Regions from separate parts of the Homo sapiens genome. Here regions 2, 3 and 4 are each linked to region 1. Evidence: promoter capture Hi-C in 16 types of primary human blood cells and fetal thymus (Javierre and others, 2016). All regions are on one chromosome and are shown on one strand. Each heading gives the region's core, a stretch centred on a gene start or on the middle of the fragment in contact. The rest is flanking DNA. Distances are from core to core; before and after follow the strand shown.

Region 1 (4,535 bases), core at 1,238-3,737:
TAAAGATACTTGCTTTAAAAGAATCACCTGGCTGTACATCAATCCACCACGTTGCTTAATGCCTTTATGTCCACTTTTGCTTCACCTATTTTTTTCCCCAAGCAAAACTGGTTGCATTGGTTTAGGCATGGATTGTGTCATCTCCTAACAGTCTCATGATTTCTATTGGTCTGCTGAGTTCTTTAGCAAGTTCCATAAATGTCAGTCTCTGAATATATCAAACTTTACCCTATAGGGCAAATCATCATTTGGTGATGACAGGCTACTGCGTCATCATGTTCCTTGCGGGCTGCAGGAAAGATGATAGGGCAATCAGAGATCAGCCTGTAAGCGTTACTGTCTGGCCTATGCCTTCCCTTTCTGACAAAACCCTGCACTTAAATTTACCAATCTGACAAAGATGTATGCCTCTCTAGAGCACACAGGTAATTTATTGAACAGAGAATAAAACTTTTGTTTTCTTCCCTTCATACCAATACTCTTAAATCATTCTTCTCACATCTTTAAAGAAATTCCAATGCTTTCAAGATCTGATTGAAAATCAAACCTGACATCCCAAACCTGAGTATTCCTCAACTTATCTCCTACCTATTCTTCAAGGTCCTGCTTAAATCCCACCTCCACTGCATGAACTTCTCAAGTTCCTTCATTCACAATTTCTCTCCTCTCTTCTCACAATAGTAATTTTACTCTCAACACTTCTTGTTATTAACCATGTCAAATATGTGAGTGTGTGCCTACCTCCTAACAAGCCTGAGAGTCCATGGAATTAAATGCAAGATTCCAAGGAATATGCCTAGCACAGTGCTTTAGGTTTGTAGCTACCCAATAAGTACTGAATTTTTGTACTTACAAAAACTCCCTATGGTGAAATTCATTCCCTCAATCAAAACATATGAGAGGACAATTCTATCAAGTACTGTGTTGGGCACTGATGATGAAGGATCACAAACCATCCCAGCCTTCCAAGACAGAAAGGGACCATTTTCTTTTCTGCCTATCCAATCTCTCACATATTTTTCATAAACCCAGTTCAAATACCACCTGACCCCCACCGCTCCCATTTGCAGTACCTATCACACAGCCCATGCCTAAGTCCTCTATAGCCTCACTGCGACTTAAGAACAGCGCCTGGAAGCTCTCTTAAAGAAACAGTGTGGTGTAACCAAAGGCAAAGATTGTGAAAAAGCACAGAATGGCTAAAATTCCAATATCCTCATTCCGATCTTTGTGGCCCCATTACGATCTTGTGGCCTTGGGCAAATCAGTTAATGTTTTTAAACCTTGGCAAGGGTATACAAATACCATCTACATTACTGCAGTATTATAACGAATAAGAGATTTTTTATTTATTTTTATTTATTTATTTACTTATTTGAGACAGAGTTTCGCTCTTGTTGCCCAGGCTGGAGTGCAGTGGCGCGATCTCGGCTCACCACAACCTCCGCCTCCCGGGTTCCAGCGATTCTCCTGCCTCAGCCTCCCTAGTAGCTGGGATTACAGGCATATGCCACCACGCCCGACTAAACTTGTATTTTTAGTAGAAACGGGGTTTCTCCATGTTAGTCAGGCTGGTCTCGAACTCCCGACCTCAGGTGATCCGTCCGCCTCGGCCTCCCAAAGTGCTGGGATTACAGGCATGAGCCACCGCGCCCGGCCAAGGGATATTTTTAAAATGTTAAAAAGCTACTGAGTCAAATCCAGAGAATTAGTAGGTGTTCAATAAAGCTGATCTCCCTTCCTCGAAAGCGCTAGCGCTGTGATTTGCAGAGAGGCCGCGGCAACTCGTGCCATGGGCACCACCCGCCAGACCAGCGGTCTAGCGGTCCAAGACGCCTCGGCCACCCCCCACCACCGCACCGGGCCTCACCTTGGTGGTCGTAGACGCTAATGTAGGAGATGCCCACGGCCATACACCACACCACGAGGCTCGCGATGTCCGAGAAGCTGGGTTCCTGCTCCACCTCGGTGATCACCAGGCCCATATGCACAGGCAGCTTCTCCAAGGAACGACCGTCCGCGCGCCAGCGCATCCGGTGGTGTGCGGCTGCCAGGCACGACCCCCCGCGCGGGTGCCGGTGGTGACGGCGGTTCCTGCCGACTGCCGGGGGCTTGCGGAGCGTGAAGCCGAGCGGCGCTAGGACCGCGGCAGAGGCGGCGCGGCAGCAGCGCCGCCAGATCCAGTTCCAGGTGCCGAACCGAACGCGGAGCCAGGAGGTGAGCGTGCGGTGCAGACAGAGCAGCGCGTGCAGCACCCGCCACACCAGCTCGTACAGCCCCGTCATACTCTTGTGGCCCTCAGACACCCCCTCTCCCTCCCGCCCACTCCCGCAGCGCGACGGCTTTTTATCCGCCCCTGCGGCCGGCGCGGGCCATCGCTCCGCGTCCCCCCGCCCCCCGAGCCCGAACCCCTTTCCACTGCCAACACCTCACCTCGCCCCCGCCGCCATCTTCCTCCTCCCTTGGCAGCCCCGCCCCCAGTAGTACATGGACAGTTCCGATTGGCCAGCGTGGAATTCTGACGCGGCTTCTGGGTCCGAGAACGTGGCCCGTTCCGGCGCAGTGAGGGAAGGCGCACGCCTGCGAACTAGCCGGGCCGATACCGCGGGCGCCCCCTGGTCGCGTGGAGGGCGATGAGCGAACGACCCGGGACTTGTCTGAATGGGACCCCAGCAAGGCACACGTGGTCTTCAATGCGATGGGCGCTTCCAGGGGACCCGGCGTCCCTTGGGTCCAGGAAGTCTTATACTGTCTCCTCTCACGGCCCCGACAGAAACGGTTTCTGAGGAGTAGAAGTGTCCTAAGTGGATTGGAAATTACAAATGCCGGAAAGAACCTAGGGATGGAAAGCAGCCCTCAGTAAGTGTTGATGCTGGGAATCCACCAGGGTTTCCAAAAGTGTCCTCAAAGGCTGGAGTGATCCTGCTACTGTCCTTTATTCAGCCTCCCGGCTGAGGCTGGGAGCGAGGCTCTTTAGCCATGTTCCTGAAACACCCCTCTACCCATGTCATTCTCATCTAAGGTATCCTTTCCTGGCTGTACATTGCTTAATAGAGGCTCTACAGCTTGGCAGTCCAGTCACTTAATTCTTTTTTTTTTTTTTTTTTTTTATTCGGCAAGACTTTGACCAACCGCCGTGGGTTAGGTTTACAGTGGGGAAAAAAAATAGAAATTGTGCCTGACTTCAATGACCGCCACTATTTGAAGCAAACTGCCCATCCAAGCCTTATCATCCCCTTTAACACCCTAATGTTTCTGTCCATGTGGACTTCGACGTGGTCCTCTAGAATGGTTTTGTACTTCCCCGCGGTAAGTCTGTACTGTCTTTGCCCTTTTTGTTCAAGCTCTTCTCCTGAATTCCTGATTCCCGACTTGGTATTGCCGACATTCCAACCCATTTCTCAAGGTTTATCCTACATGCTACATCCTCTATCATCATATATATGTGTGTGTGCAACAATAATATTTATATTATTTGCATTTATATTTATATAAGTATATATATAAAGATTAGGGAGGTATTACAAAAATGCAACTGTACACATACACACGTATACACACATATTTACACACGTGTGTGTGTGTAAACAGTTGCGTTTTTGTAATACCTACCTATTCTTTGTTCGCTAAAGCCTCTTTTTCCCCCTGGGAAACATCTGTTCACGTCTTGGCTATGTGACTTAATTTTTCTAACATTGTCACTTTTTCAACTAGTCTCATTTTGGTTTCTAAGACTCATTTAACTTTACTTTAAAAGTTGAATCTCATGTCCATCTCCCTTTCGCAGTGCAATTTTCCTCCCTTTGGCAGTGCAGCCTGAAGAACTGAGGGCTGGGCACCAGGCACACCCTTCACACACTTCTTTCTCTCCAGGTCTCCTCTGCGGTAGCTCCTCTGATGATGGACAAAGAAGGAGAGGCGAAAGGCCATGATCAGGGAAGCCTACAGTCTTCTTCCTCACTGCCCATTGCTGTAGTTTATGCAGCTACATGATGCTTGTTAAGGAAGCTCCCTAGACACCAGTGTCCCATTGAGATTTGGCCACGTATTCTGCAGACCCCACCCCACCCCCCATGCCGACTATGTTGCCACATTTCTCTACCGTACTCATTTCTTTGCCCCAATGTCTATCCGTTCTGACAAGATTAAAGACATCAATCTCATGTTCCCGTGGCCTGCTCTCAGGTGTGCAGGCACAAACAGGCTCTATCTTCTGTATTTCTTTTTTCCTTTTTTTTTGAAACGGAGTCTCGCTCAGTCGCCCAGGCTGGAGGGCAGTGGTGCGATCTCAGCTCACTGCAGGCTCCGCCTCCCGGGTTCACGCCGTTCTCCTGCCTCAGCCTCCCGAATAGCTGGGACTACAGGTGCCCGCCACTACGCCCGGCTAATTTTTTGTGTGTTTTTAGTAGAGGCGGGGTTTCACCATGTTGGTCTTGAACTCCTGACCTCAGGTGATCCGCCCGCCTTGGCCTCCCAAAGTGCTGGGATTACAGGCGTGAGCCACTGCGTCCGGCCCCTGTATTTCTTTGAATTGC
Region 2 (4,535 bases), core at 874-3,373, 960 kb before region 1:
GTGAAGTAAGCTTTTTTATCTACCTTTCATGTCAGTCCTCCACTCCATTTTTAATAGTTTTTAGTTATCCTTCTGGAAAATTTCTATGCATGGACAGTAATAAAAATAATAACATTTATTGAGATCCTAATTATATGTCTGGCACTTTCAAAAATATATTTACAGGCCAGGTGCAGTGGCTCACGCCTGTAATCCCAGTACTTTGGGAGGCTGAGCAGGCGGATCACTTGAGGTCAGGAGTTCGAGACCAGCCTGGCCAACATGGCGAAACCCCATCTCTACTTAAAAAAAACCTAAAAAATTAGCCAGACATGGTGGTGTGTGCCTGTAATCCGCACAACTTGGGAGGCTGAGGCAGGAGAATCTCTTGAACCTGGGGGATGAATGTTGCAGTGAGCCGAGACTGCACTACTGCACTCCATCCTGGGCAACTGAGAGAGGCTCTGTCTCAAAAACAATAACAACAACAAAAAACTTTACATGTTCATTGATCACAACAACCCTATAATATAGGTACTATTCTATAATTTTTTTCTTCTCTTACATATGAAGAAATTGAGGCACAGAGAGGTTAAGTGATTTATGAGGACTTACTGCTAATAAGAGGTAGAATGAACTTGAACCCAGGTAGCCTGGTTTCACAGTGCACACTGAGCTATACTGGTAATTCTGTGATAAAAGAAACAAACTAAGACTATTGGAGTCACTTACCCTAGAGATAAATAGTACTGAAATGGAGTGGAGGATTGGGATGGAGAAAATAACACTATGTGATGTTTCTGTCATCTTAGCTAGATATTCTGCAGTGTAGTTCCAGATTTGTTGGTTTTTTCTGTTTGGCTACTGTTAATATGAACGTTTTTTTCTTACCGTTTAATGTTCTAATTTTTTGTGTGAGTTTTGTGTCTTTTTAACCTATTGGAGACTGTTTTCCCATGTTAGGAATGTTGGCCATCAGATCTCTAAATTATTTAAAATTACCTTAAAAAAAGCTGCATTGATAAATATTTACTGATCTCTAAATAGATACTTAAATGCATACTGGCTCAAGGGATAGTTTAAAATATCCTGGATTTTAAAATAAGCAGACAACAACCACCAAACAAAACGCTTGTTTGAATCCTTTTTCTGAACACAAAGATATTTTTGTAGTTGTAATTGTAAGGCTTCCAAAATTCTAATTTTATTCTGTGAACATTTGTTAGGTATCCAGTGGTTATAATGACTACATTTATTGAGACCCTGTATAAGTGTGCAGCTCTTTGCTAGGTACTGGACACTAAAAAAAGTTGCCTTTCATTTTTCACAGTTTGGTGAGGGAGAAGAAAGTCATATACATATGGGTTAATATAATTTATTAAATGTTGTTGGAATTTTGAATAATATATTGGGAGTGAACAAAGTATTTAATGCCACCTGGAGGAATCAGGGAAGACAGAACAAGTTAATTCTGAACTAGGACTCTTAAGGTGCAGAAGTGAAACAGCTTGGAGTCATGAAAGAGTCTCATCTGTTTGGAGGAAGTGATTAGGTAAGTGTGGCTAGATAGTTTTTGTAGGTAGAAGTTGCAAAGTGAAGCTGACAATTGGTGAAGAACTTTGCCTAACTTAAGGAGTTTGAATTTATTTAATATGCCGTAAGGGGCTCACAGATCTATGTAAGTAGAAGAATAACATAAACATGCTTGATTCTAGAAGATAGTAGAGTAGAGGCTGGCTTGAGTGGAGTTATTCCAGCAGCAGAATAGGTTCTTTGTGCAAAAGTACTTGTTAATATTTCAGAGATGTTAAAATGTGAACCGCGTGCTACTTATGTAATATAAGGGTAAACATGCTTTATCTACTATTTTATTTGAAAGTGTTGGTTTCCAAGTTGATTTTAAAACATACTAATGGGTGACAGATAATCTGCATTCTGAAAAACATTGCAATTTGTATTCTCGATTTGTATTATGTATTCAGCTTATTTAAAAGTATAAATCTGCTTTGTCAGTAGTGTTATTTTTATTTTCTTCAATTTAGAGCTGTCATTAAAATATTCAATGAGAGTAGTTCTTGTTCTCAGTGCAGTTACATATATATTCAAATGCTGTGGAATACTTGATACTGTATGCATTTTTGCTTCCAATAAAAGAGCTTCAGAAGTAAAATAGGTTGCTTTTTTATTTAATGCTAATCTTCCTGTCTGAGAAATATTCAGAATTTTTAATGTTATCCGCAGGCACTCAGTATTCTATTAAAATAATTAAAATTAGTATTAAAAAATTAGTATTGAAAAATGTAACATATTGTCTTCCAAGGAGGAGTTCCAATGTAGAGTTTCTTGGGATCTTTGCTGTTCTTACAGCAGTCCTTTTGTCTTTAGGTAAGACATTATTGCCAGAGGTTATTCAGCCTTATTTTGAGTTTTTAAGTGCATATTGCATACTAGATATCAATATTCCCATTTCAGTAACATAGTCTTGTAACTATTCTGTGAGAAAATTTTCCTTATTAAATCACCTGGTCAGCATATTTCACATGTACTTCTTCCTGTATTGTGCTTCTGGATTGACTTGTCTAAAGACAAGTCATGTCATTCTTTTCAGACTGTGAATTTTTTCAGTTTAAATTAAAAGATTAGAATGTTATTTTCATGACATTTGTTAATCATCTTCAGTGTTTGAGGCACATACAATACCAGATCTTCTTTTTAAAGACATAGTTATGTTTAAAGGTTAAGGCAAATTAGTTCAGGTGGGAGGAGATCAATTTATATAGTTAATTCTTTTCCTTTTTTTTTTTTTGAGACGGTCTCACTATGTTGCCCAGGCTGGTCTCGAACTCCTGGGCTTAAGCAATCTTACCTTGGCTTCCTGAGTAGCTGGTATTACAGGCATGTGCTACACATGATGTATATTGCCTAATAGCCTATCAAAAGGTTGTGTTTTTGTAATGAATAAATTAACATTACCATTATCAGTGTATGGGAGTATCTAGGAACACTGTTGTTTTGTTCTTTTAACATTTTTGCTAGATTGATAGCTGAAAAATAGCATGTCTTCTGAATTTGATACTACTTGCTTACCAGTGGGCTTGGACTATTTTTCAGAATTTTTTATTTGTGTTTTTCCCTTTGGGGTTTGTCCTTTGTCCATTTAGACTAAACCATTTAGTATTTATTTATTTATTTTTAGTTTGCTTATGATCTCTTTATAATTATGCATTAATACCATATCTGCAAATATTTTTAGTGTTTGCCTTTAACTTCTTAAATATATAGACAACTTTTTTTTTTTTTTTTTTTTTTTGAGACAGTCTTGCTTTATTACCCAGGCTGGAGTGTAGTGGCATGATCTCGGCTTACTGCAGCCTCCACCTCCTGGGTTCAAGTAGCTTAGCTTCCCAGGTAGCTGAGACTACAGGCATGTGCCACCATGCACAGAGGCATTTTTTTGAATTTTTTTTTTTTTTTCTTTTGTAGAGATGGGCTTTTGCCATGTTTTCCAGGCTGGTCTTAAACTCTTGAACTCAAGCTGTCTGCCAGCGTTGGCCTCCCAAAGTGCTGGGATTACAGGTGTGAGCCACCTTGCCCGGCCTAGACAACAATTTGATGATTTATGTGGTTTGCTTACTTTTTGTGTCCTTCTGTAAAAGTCAGAGGTTCAAGTTTATAAGGTGGCAGTACACTGAAAGAAATTTTAGGAAGATCATTTCCCTGAGTTGCTAAATAAAAAGGCTCTAAGTATGTATGTACTGCTCTGTGATTCAAAGATAGAATTTAGGGTTTCTAGAGGGGCGGAATGATAGCATGTCTTAGACCATTTTCTCTGTCATTTCTTATAGCTTTTTTTGTATAAAAGTTAGATAACAGATAGTTGAGATTGTACTGATGTGCTTTGGAAATCTGTGGAATAGGTATCATATTGAGTAGATGATATTGAAATACTGTAATGGAAATTGAGGATTACAACTATTGTTCTTTTCTAAATAGAAGGCTGTCCCCACTTTTTCATATCTGTAGGCAAGATTAGAATTTTTCTAGTTTTCCCAATATTGTATTGAAGTTCTCCAGAGAAACAGAGCCAATAGCATTTAATTAATTAATTAAGAATTGGCTCATGAGATTATGGTGGCTGACAGGTCCCAAGATCTGTGAGGTGATTTGGCAAGCTGGAGACCTGGGATTGTTGATAGCATAGTTCCAGTCTGAAGGCTGGCAGGCTCAAGCCCCAGGAAGAGATCAGTTCAAGCTTGAAGGTAGGAAAAAGCCAGTGTACTAGTGTATTTAATCAAAGGGGATCAGGCAGGAAGAATTCTCTTCTGCTTAGGGGATGGTTAGCTTTTTTGTTGTGTTCAGGCCTTCAGCTGGTTCAGTGAAGCCCACCCACATTATGGAGGGCAGTCTGCCTTATCCAGTCGACCAATCTGAATGTTGAGCTCATCCAAACACCTTCACGGAAGTAATGTTTGACTGCATATCTGGGCACCCCATGGTCCAGTCAAGTTGTCATGTAAAATTAACCATCACACATATTTGACATTGTCCAGGAGTTC
Region 3 (4,535 bases), core at 867-3,366, 910 kb before region 1:
GCAGGGCCTGATATTTAAGAAGTCAGCTATCTGTTAGCCAAAGGCTCCCCCAAAAGTGCAGTAGTCCTGCCACGTTAGGTGGGGCATAAATAGTTAAATCATTTTCCAGAGTTAATTTGGAGGCTTCTGGGACCAACAGAGCCACTGAGGCAATGGCGGGGAGGCATGCTGGCCATCCTTTAGCCACCAACTCAAGTTCCTTACTTAGGCAACCCACTGGCTGTTGGCCTGGTCTTTGGGCCTGTGTTAATACTCCCAGGGCCATTCCCTTCTTTTCTGATACATACAGATTGAAGTCCTTCCCTATAGGAAGGGTGAAAGTTGGTGCCTTAAGCAAGGCTTGCTTTAGCTGGTCAAAGGCCTTTTGAGCTTCAGATTCCCAGGTTAAAAGATGAGTTTTAGTTCCTTGAGTTTATTTTATGAGGTTATATCATGGACAGCCTATTTCACCATACCCAGGTATCCATAGTCTACAAAATCCTGTAATGCCCCAAAATCCTCTGAGTTGCTTGAGGGTTTTGGGGAGGGGAAAGGAAGAAATATTCTCAACTCCCTCCTTCCCTAATGCTCTGGTCCCCTCAGACAGCACTAAGCCTAGGTGTACTTCACTGAGGTTTTGCAGAGCTGGGCCTTGGGTTTTGAAACTTTATATTCTCTGTTAGCTAACATATTGAGAAGAGCTTCAGTGCCTTCCTGAAAAGCATCCTCAGTTGGGGCACATAGCAGAATATCATCAACATACTGCAAGACCTTAACTTAAGGTTGAGAGAACTCAGAGAGGTCTTGTGACAGTGCCTGTCCAAACAGATGAGGACTATTTCAAAATCCCTGAGGCAGCACCGTCAGTGTTAACTGGGCGTCTGGCTGGAGGAATATTTGAAGGCAAACCGGTATTGACAGTCAGGATGTAACGGTGTACAGAAAAAGGCATCCTTTAAATCTAGGACTGTAAACCATTTAGTTCCCTCAGGTATTTGAGTTAACAGGGTATAGGGATTAGGGACCACTGGATGGATTGGAACTACAGCTTCATTAATGAGGCGAAGGTCCTGAACCAGGCTTCATTCCCCATTGGGTTTCTGTGCTCCTAATATTGGGGTGTTGCAGGGGCTATTACAGGGTTTGAGGAGGCCCTGCATCTTTAGGTTATTAATAATGGCTTCTAGCCCTTTCCTAGCCACTGGCCTTAGGGATAATATCTCTGGTTAGGAAAAGAAGTGGGATCCTTAAGATAGATCTGGACTGGCGTAGTGGTTATAGCTCAACCTATTCTTCCTTAAGTTGCCCACACTTCCACATTAATGTTAGCTTCCATCAGGGGGAGATAGAGTTTGTCCTGGGGCTGTAAAGATGCTGCAGGCCCCCATGCAAGCTAGAATATATCTACCTAATAAAGGAGTGGGACTTTCAGGCGTGATTAAAAAGGCATGTTTAAATAGTAAGTCTCCCCATCTGCAAAAGGGGTTGAGAAAAATATTGGGTTAGAGTTTTTCGTGATACACCCCTTATGGTTGTGCTCTGGGAAGAGGGGAGGCCTGAATTAGAGAGGAGGAGCAAGAGACTGGCTTCAGTATCCAGAAGGAGATCTACCTTCCTTCCTTCAATTTCCAGAATCACTCAGGGTTCCTGTGCTGTAATGGCAGTCTGAGTCGCTGGAGCCGGGGGTTTAAGCCTCGGGACCCGTCAGTCCTGCTGGACCATCTATGAGACTGGTTCTGAACCCAGCGACCTCTGCCTCTGGGGGCAGATCCATCTCCAGTGGTCTCCGCCACAGGCTGGACAGGGTCAAGGTGGCTTCGTCTTGCTGCCTGGGCATTCCCTCTTAAAATGCCCTGACTTGCCACATTGATAACAGCTAGCAGATGCACCTCAGGGATCCTGGACTTTACAAGCGTGCAATGCTGCTACTAGAGCCTCTGTTCTTCACTTATATTTCCTTTCCTTTTCTTGGGCCTCCTCCTGATCTGTATTGTAAATGACTGAAGTGGCTATTCTCAGGAGGTTCTCTAGGGTGCTATCTGGTCCTATAGCTTGTTTCTGTAGTTTCTTTCCAATATCGGGAGCTGACTGTGTAATAAACTTGTCCTTCAGGATTAGCTGTCCCTCGACTGAATCATGATAAAGAGGTGTGTTTTATTAGTGCCTCTCTTAGCCTTTCCATAAAGGCTGTGGGATTCTCATCTGGTCTATCATAGATAGTTTAGAGTAATCGAGAGGTTTGGCCCTGGTCTTCCATAGGCCCTCTAACATAGACCTTAAGAAGTGCTTCCTTTTCCATTCATTTCCTGCGTTATTGGGGTTCCAATCAGGGTTGTCCGCTGGAACTGCTTCCCTTCCTAGTGGGAATGGAGTTTCCACTTCTTCCTTACCTTCCTTGTCTCCTCTTTTTCTCCTTGGTCTGCTACAGGAGGCATGTTGCTTATATCCATATTTTTCTGCTGCCTGTGGAACTGCTGGCTTTTCAGCCCCAGTGAGGGTCTGACTTAGCAGCAACATAACATCCCTCTATGTGAGATCAAACACCTGAGTTAAATTTTGGAAAATTTCTATATACTTATCGGAGTCATCAGAAAATTGGGCCAAGTCTCTGTTTATTTGCTTAAGGTCCTGTAATGAGAAGGAAACTTGAACCCTCATGGCACCATTCCTATCAGCCATTTCCTGCAGAGGTAAGAATGAAGCGGGGAGAGTAGGATATACTGGAGATAGTGGAGCTGGAGGAGCTGATAGTATGATTGGAGGGGGACTGGAAGGATTGGGACATTCAATAGCTGTTTCAGATTGCTCCTCTGGAACCTGCTTTAGCTCTGGGGAACGATTCCCTGTGGCCGCTAAAAGAACTGGGTCAATTGTACAGAACTTGTAAAGGTCTGGGCTGTTTCACAGGGCAAAGAAAGTCTGTACATAGGGGATCTCAGTCCATTTGCCCTTCTGTTTGGAGAAAAGATCTAACTGTTGGATAATATTAAAATCAAGGCTCCCCGCAGCGGGCCAGGTTTATCTGTCCCCAAGATAGTAAGAAGGCTATGCTCTTGTGCAATAGAATATGAGTCACTTTTTTTTCAAAGTCTCAGGGTTGAAGGAGTCCCAGTGCTTTAAAATACATTCCAGAGGAGTGCATGCTGAAGACGATCTGTTGGCCATCTAGAAAGAGAAGTGAGAATAAAAGTGTCCTTTTAGTCTCCTTCCTTTTGGTGTATGACTCAGGGTGGAGAAGAAAACAGTAGGGGGCATTCCTCTAACTAGTCTCCCTCCCTGGTTCCTGGGTCCCGGCACCCAGTTAAATGTGCCGCCTGTGGCTGTAGGTGTGACCCTCCAAGCCATGGCACCAGAGAAACTAGACTTTTGAGGCCTAGTCACACTTACCCAAGTAGTCCCAGTCCTCTGCTTGTTATTTCCCTTTGACCTCCTAGACTTGTGTGACCTGTGTACCTCCCTAAAAAAAAATGGATCTCAGGGAAAACTGTGTAATTGGGGAAGGCCCCTTTAATGGAGGGGTTATGCTAGATTGAACTCTATATCCTGCTATTATGGCCCATGCTAAAGCATTTACCCTTAGAAAAATGGTTTCAGTTAACTTCCAGACTTAAAATCCCCTTACTAATTAAGTACTGTCTCTGTTGGAGACAGAATAGGTGACTTAAAGAAATGTAGGAACCAAATGGCTGTTTTCCTGCTGATGGGACAATATTGAGACTAAAATTTGGCTATGGAAGACATTTAATTTCTAACTGTTGAAAGCAGAATTTTCCCATTCCTGGAAGAGGCTTAGAGCCTGATTTCTAGCAGTGCAAAAGGAAGCTGCAGTGTTAGCATTAAAAAAAGTGCCTCATGTAGAGGATTTCTGTTTCCTCTAGGTGGCACTGTTGGCTTAGAAATACTGTGTGCTCCTCAGACAAGCGGTAGAGAGACCTGGAAATGCCGTGTGCTCTCCAGACCAAGGGGCTGAGAGAGAGAGGCTCACTGTCCCGGAGGAACCCTCTGTTCAGGAGATTGCAATGGCATTCTTGAGTTAAACTCCCGGTTACTAAATTCCCACACAGTTGACACATACACACAGAGTAAGAGACCACAGATAGAAAAGGAAGGAAAGTTTCATGACCGGATAGCTGAGGATTCTCTGCCAGCACCTGAAATGGGCTGTTGGAGGCTGGGTCTGGTCCAGAGGTCTTTGAGTCACACCAGGGTGTGCCCTGCCCAGAGATGCTCAGTTGCCTCAGAACTTTTCCCAGCCTTGCGCAACGGCGAGGTCTCCCCATGAAAGGAAGCTGATTCGAAATACGGCCAACATTCCCAATCACCTGTGGGTATTGGGGGGTTCTCCATGTTCTCACCAGCAAGCCTCACATCTGAGTCTTTAGAACAGCAGCCAACGATAAGTGTAGCTAACCAGCAGACAGATAGATGCCTTTTGATTGATTTGATTTGATTTTAAAATAGAGGCCAAGAGCACCTCAGAATGATAGAACAGATTTTAAGCTCGCTTGTATAATCACCACTTCAGTGAATGTTGTACCTCGGATTCCCGGCCAGTG
Region 4 (4,535 bases), core at 2,036-4,535, 880 kb before region 1:
GGAAAAAAGATAAAAATCATAGAAACACTGATTTTCTTTTAGTCTAATTTTTACATAAAGAGAAGAACCTTAATAAGGACCAGGCCGTCTGATAAATTGTGATTTGCAAGCACAACTCCTAAACACTCACCATGAAAAAACAATATTTTTACAACTAAGAAAAGGAATTTGGCTGAAAGTCATAATCTAATAAAACCTTAGATTTATATGTTATAGAATTCTGTAGCTTTCACAGTATTTTATCTCATTTGATTCTCACAGCTCCCCACTCCCCAGGTTAATTTGTAACATTGAAGGTTTGCTCTTCCTAGGACTTAGTCCAGAATAATTATTGAGCCAGACACACATTCTTATGTGTGTGTTGTTCCTTGATTTCCATGGTTTTCTGCTAAATCATCAAGAGTGCAGGAGTGTAGTACTCTGAATCATTTTCCTTTGTGAATGAAAAGAAGCCATTATGCCCTCAGATGGTTTATGACAGAAGGCTCCATGTGTAATGCCTACTGCTAGTCTTTGACTCTTTCCTCGGTAGTACATCACACTTATGCTACCCACCCCCTGCAACCCCTAAGCTGCCTGACTCTATAGGGACTATGACAGAGGAGGAAAAACAGTCTGGTCTTTTTGGGAAGACTCCTTCCCTTTCCATGGCCCCCTTGAGTTCCTTTTCTTGGGGAAGGTAGGGTGGAAGGGATGGAGGATAAACACTTCTACACGTAACGGCAGTATCCATTTGGATTCCTGTAAGCCCACGATGGATCTCCCAGACAGTAGTGAAATAATAGTAGCCTCTTTATTGATGAAGTTGTTTATCCTTTTTTCCCTAGGATGTTTCTGAACTTCAGGTGGCAGTCATTAAAAAGATGAAATTTTGTGCCTATTTAGTCATAAGGGTGTTTGAACAGTTATGGTATTGGCACCTATACATATTTTACTGGAGATTTTCCCTTGTATAAACAAAAAATTTGGACCAAGCATGGTAGCTCACCCCTGTAATCCCAACACTTTGGGAGGCTGATGGGGGGTGGATAGCTTGAGGATAGGAGTTTGGGACCAGCCTGGGCAATGAGACCCCATCTCTACAAAAAATAAAAAGAATTAGCCATATATGGTGATGTGCCCCTGTAGTGCCAGCTACTTGGGAACCAAGGTTGGAGAATCCTTTGCACCCCAAGAGTTCAAGGCTGCAGTGTGCAATGATCATGTGACTGCATTCCAGCCTGCATGACAGAGTAACACCCTGTCTCTTGATTTAAAAAAAAAAAATTGATAAAATGAGTTAAAGTAAAATGACTTGTTTTTTGTCTAACATGAAATAATAATGAAAAAGTTTTATTTATAACTTGAGAGTGTTTAAAGTATTCTGTTACGTCCTGTGAACAGAAAGTTTTCTTATTTTTATTCTTATTTTTGTACCCTGTTCTGGCTTTAATTTTTTAACTGTTTGAGATAATTTATATATTCAAAGATGTGAACACTATGACACTCCCTATATTAGGATATGACACATTCATTAGGTAGTTAAAGAGGACTTTTATATACCTGTTTTAATGAATAAAATTAGTAATGTGTTTCACTTTTTTCATCTGTCAAGTTTTCTATGTAATATTAGCATAAAATTTCTGGACATTTTGAAGTGTGCTGTTACTTAGCAGAAGAGCAGATCTTTTCTGAAAATTTATTATAGTCCTACTTTGCCAGAAGTCTCAAAAATAATCAAAAGATAAATAATCGCTATGTAGTAGCAATTTGTTATCTTATATACGTCTGCCCTCTTGTGTGTCTGGACTTGGGCGTCTTGATTTTGTTTTATTTGGGGAAAGTCACCAAAAAAACCCCTATAAAATTAAAACTATAATTAGAGCGTTTTATCGTTAGTATCAATTGTAAGTGTATTATAGAGCAGCCCCACTGAGTTTTCAAGAACATTCATTTTAATATAGTGATTCTGATTTGCATTAAACAAATATATATTCTTAACCAATTAAAATATAAAAGGCAACATTAAGCATTTTAAAATTGTTTTTAGTGCCCTGTAAATTAAGATAAGAACTTATTCTATAGTAGAACATATTTGAGCATTTAGTATATTAAATTTTAAAAATAAATTGTTTTCTTATATCTTATTCTTTACACTTTATGATGAAGAATAATTATTTAAAGAGTTTATTCTACTTTATAATTTGAGTTATAGTATTCTGTAATCCTCACAGAATAAGATTTTAATTTCTATCAAAGAATGAAGAACAAAAAAATTAGTTATTTCTGTTTACTGAGAAAAATATTGTAACAAACAGTGTAATCAAAGGAATATGACTAATCAGTTCAAATTTTCCACTTGTTTTTAAGACTAGGGATACTTTCTGTATTGGTAATTTACTAAAACCAGTGAGGTGAGTGTATCACCTGTTGTTTATAAGCTTTCTACTTGTTTTTAGGAATTTCCAGCTTGTAGATGAGGCGTCACTTAAGAAATCTCTGCCCTTCTGTTCTTCAGATATCCCTGAACCAAACACTTTCCACTCCCCATCTCTAGTATCTCTCATGGGTTCAGAAAATTTAATAGTGTCTCCTTCACTATTGAGTTAGCAACACTTGTGTAAGAAACCAAGGTCAATATTGATGTTACATATTCTTTTAGTAACCATGTTTTAGAAGATATGGTTAATTACACATCCTCTACTCTTTTAATAATAGTTATATTAGTAACATGTCTTCAACTGAAATTAAAATTGTTGGATTATGCAGTATAGGTGTAAACTATTTTAGACTTAATTTTAAACTTTAGTCAACTTAAATTACCAAAGTTTGGTGAATATATTTTCCAGCACTCAATTTTACTTCAGTTGTTTTATGAGTTATTGGAAGATGTTCTGAAATGGTCAGAGGAGAAATTGAAAATTTATTCATCAAGAAAATAATTATAAATAGCATAGCTGGATCTATAATTTAGCTCAGTAGAGTGGACTGCAAAATAGATGCTTACCATTTGGTTGATAGAGGAAGAAAAATAGCTATATCCTATTACAGTTGACCCTTGAACAACAAGGGCTTGAATTGCAAGGGTCCACTTATACATGAATATTCTTTCCCCCACTCCCCACACCCCTAAGACAAGACTGCAAGACCAACGCCTTCTCTTCCTCCCCATCTTTCTCCTCCTCTGCCTACTCAATGTGAAGACAATGAGAATGAAGACTTTTATGTTGACCCACTTCCATTTAATGAATAGTAAATATATTTTCTCTTTCTTATGATTTTCTAAATAACATTTTCTCTAGCTTACTTTATTGTAGGAATATAGTGTATAATACATATAACACGCAAAATATGTGTTAATTTACTGTTTATGTTATCAGTAAGGTTTATGGTCAATAGTAGGCTATTAGGTAGTTAAGATTTTGCGGACCCACGAATTGTCAGCTCCCCTAACCCCCATGTTCAAGGGTCAGCTGTAGATGTAATAGATGGGCCAACAAGTTCATTTCAAAATATAATCTAATAATTAGTTAATATTTGGAGAGAGAATTCATATATTTTTAAAAAATACTTGAGATAATATATTTTTCTGTCACTGGAAATCTTTTATTTTCCTTGCCTGCATTGGATGTTAGGCTGGAATGGAAGACAACCTGCAAAATCATTCTGAAGTCTTAAGGTTTCATGATTCCAAAGATATAGTATGGTAAGCTAGGTAACTCTAGCTCAGATAATTCACTACAGTGCCTTAAATGAAGATTAGATTCTGTTGTTAGTATATTAGTGATATGACTAATCTCACTGTCACATATTAACCACCAGTTCTCATCTGTTGATCATATGTCTTAGAACAGATTTATGATTTACCTACATGTACTAGAATTCTGTGATTCTTTGAAAAAATTACTTAAAAGGAATTTTATTATGTAAGAGTATGGCCTTACTTTTCCATACTTGATTCTCATCAACTTTAAAAGATGTTAATGTGGCATAGAAAAAATACAATTTCTGTTTTAGAATGTAGATTCTGATAGTTACTACAAATAGTTCTTTATAATAAGATAACAGATGTGAGGAGTCAGTGGACTATTTTGAATAATGACACTTCATTTGTGTTATTACTTTGATACTTGGTGAAGACCTGAAAAATACTTAGTATTAAAGAAGCTTTTACATTGTAATATAAATTATATTCACCTCAAAAGAGTAAAAATAATGCTTTATATATGAAGTGAACTTGTTGGCAGTGCAGTTTTAAAACTAAACTCTTCATCTTCAGAAAAGATTTGGGATAGAAATTTGTGAGCCATGTTGAGGAAATCAACAGTTGCATTTTATACACTTATTTTGAAGTTAATTTTTGAAAATAAAGCCCTTTTCATGTTTACAAGATCCAACAGATGAATACATATGGTAACAATAAGTTTTAGTCTTAATCTTGACCTTTTCACAAAGAAACTCTTCTACTCAGGAAGTGGTCTGTTATACAATATTGTTTTCCTGTCTGCATGGGATGACAGATTTTAAGCTGATGTGGCAAGCTGCAGATCTAGAGG

Evidence for each region. The method cuts DNA at HindIII sites, captures the fragments that hold promoters and counts their contacts. A CHiCAGO score of 5 or more calls a contact.
Region 2: a fragment that was not itself captured here is called in contact with the fragment with the promoter of NUS1 in region 1 in 1 of 17 cell types (monocytes); the score reaches 5.0 in monocytes.
Region 3: a fragment that was not itself captured here is called in contact with the fragment with the promoter of NUS1 in region 1 in 1 of 17 cell types (monocytes); the score reaches 5.4 in monocytes.
Region 4: a fragment that was not itself captured here is called in contact with the fragment with the promoter of NUS1 in region 1 in 6 of 17 cell types (total B cells, neutrophils, total CD4 T cells and 3 more); the score reaches 6.2 in total B cells.

What each region holds. Positions count from the first base shown.
Region 1 is chr6:117,673,421-117,677,955 of GRCh38, reverse strand. NUS1 (NUS1 dehydrodolichyl diphosphate synthase subunit) reads right to left here and starts at 2,487. Exons shown (of 5, transcript NM_138459.5): 1 at 1,871-2,487. The coding sequence starts at 2,285. LOC101927919 (a long non-coding RNA gene) reads left to right here and starts at 2,672. Exons shown (of 3, transcript NR_110854.1): 1 at 2,672-2,859; 2 at 3,121-3,309; 3 at 3,874-4,535. The HindIII fragment of the contact is 6,476 bases long and covers 1-4,535 here.
Region 2 is chr6:118,636,458-118,640,992 of GRCh38, reverse strand. The region is part of intron 1 of CEP85L (centrosomal protein 85L); the gene reads left to right. Among named protein-coding and RNA genes, the nearest start is that of CEP85L, 13 kb to the left of the region's middle. The HindIII fragment of the contact is 4,221 bases long and covers 13-4,233 here.
Region 3 is chr6:118,580,338-118,584,872 of GRCh38, reverse strand. The region is part of intron 2 of CEP85L (centrosomal protein 85L); the gene reads left to right. It overlaps LOC107986524 (a long non-coding RNA gene), which reads right to left. Exons shown (of 5, transcript XR_002956384.2): 5 at 2,575-3,144. Among named protein-coding and RNA genes, the nearest start is that of PLN, 34 kb to the right of the region's middle. The HindIII fragment of the contact is 5,821 bases long and covers 1-4,535 here.
Region 4 is chr6:118,559,094-118,563,628 of GRCh38, reverse strand. The region is part of intron 3 of CEP85L (centrosomal protein 85L); the gene reads left to right. PLN (phospholamban) reads right to left here. Exons shown (of 2, transcript NM_002667.5): 2 at 1,913-4,535. Among named protein-coding and RNA genes, the nearest start is that of PLN, 13 kb to the right of the region's middle. The HindIII fragment of the contact is 1,726 bases long and covers 2,423-4,148 here.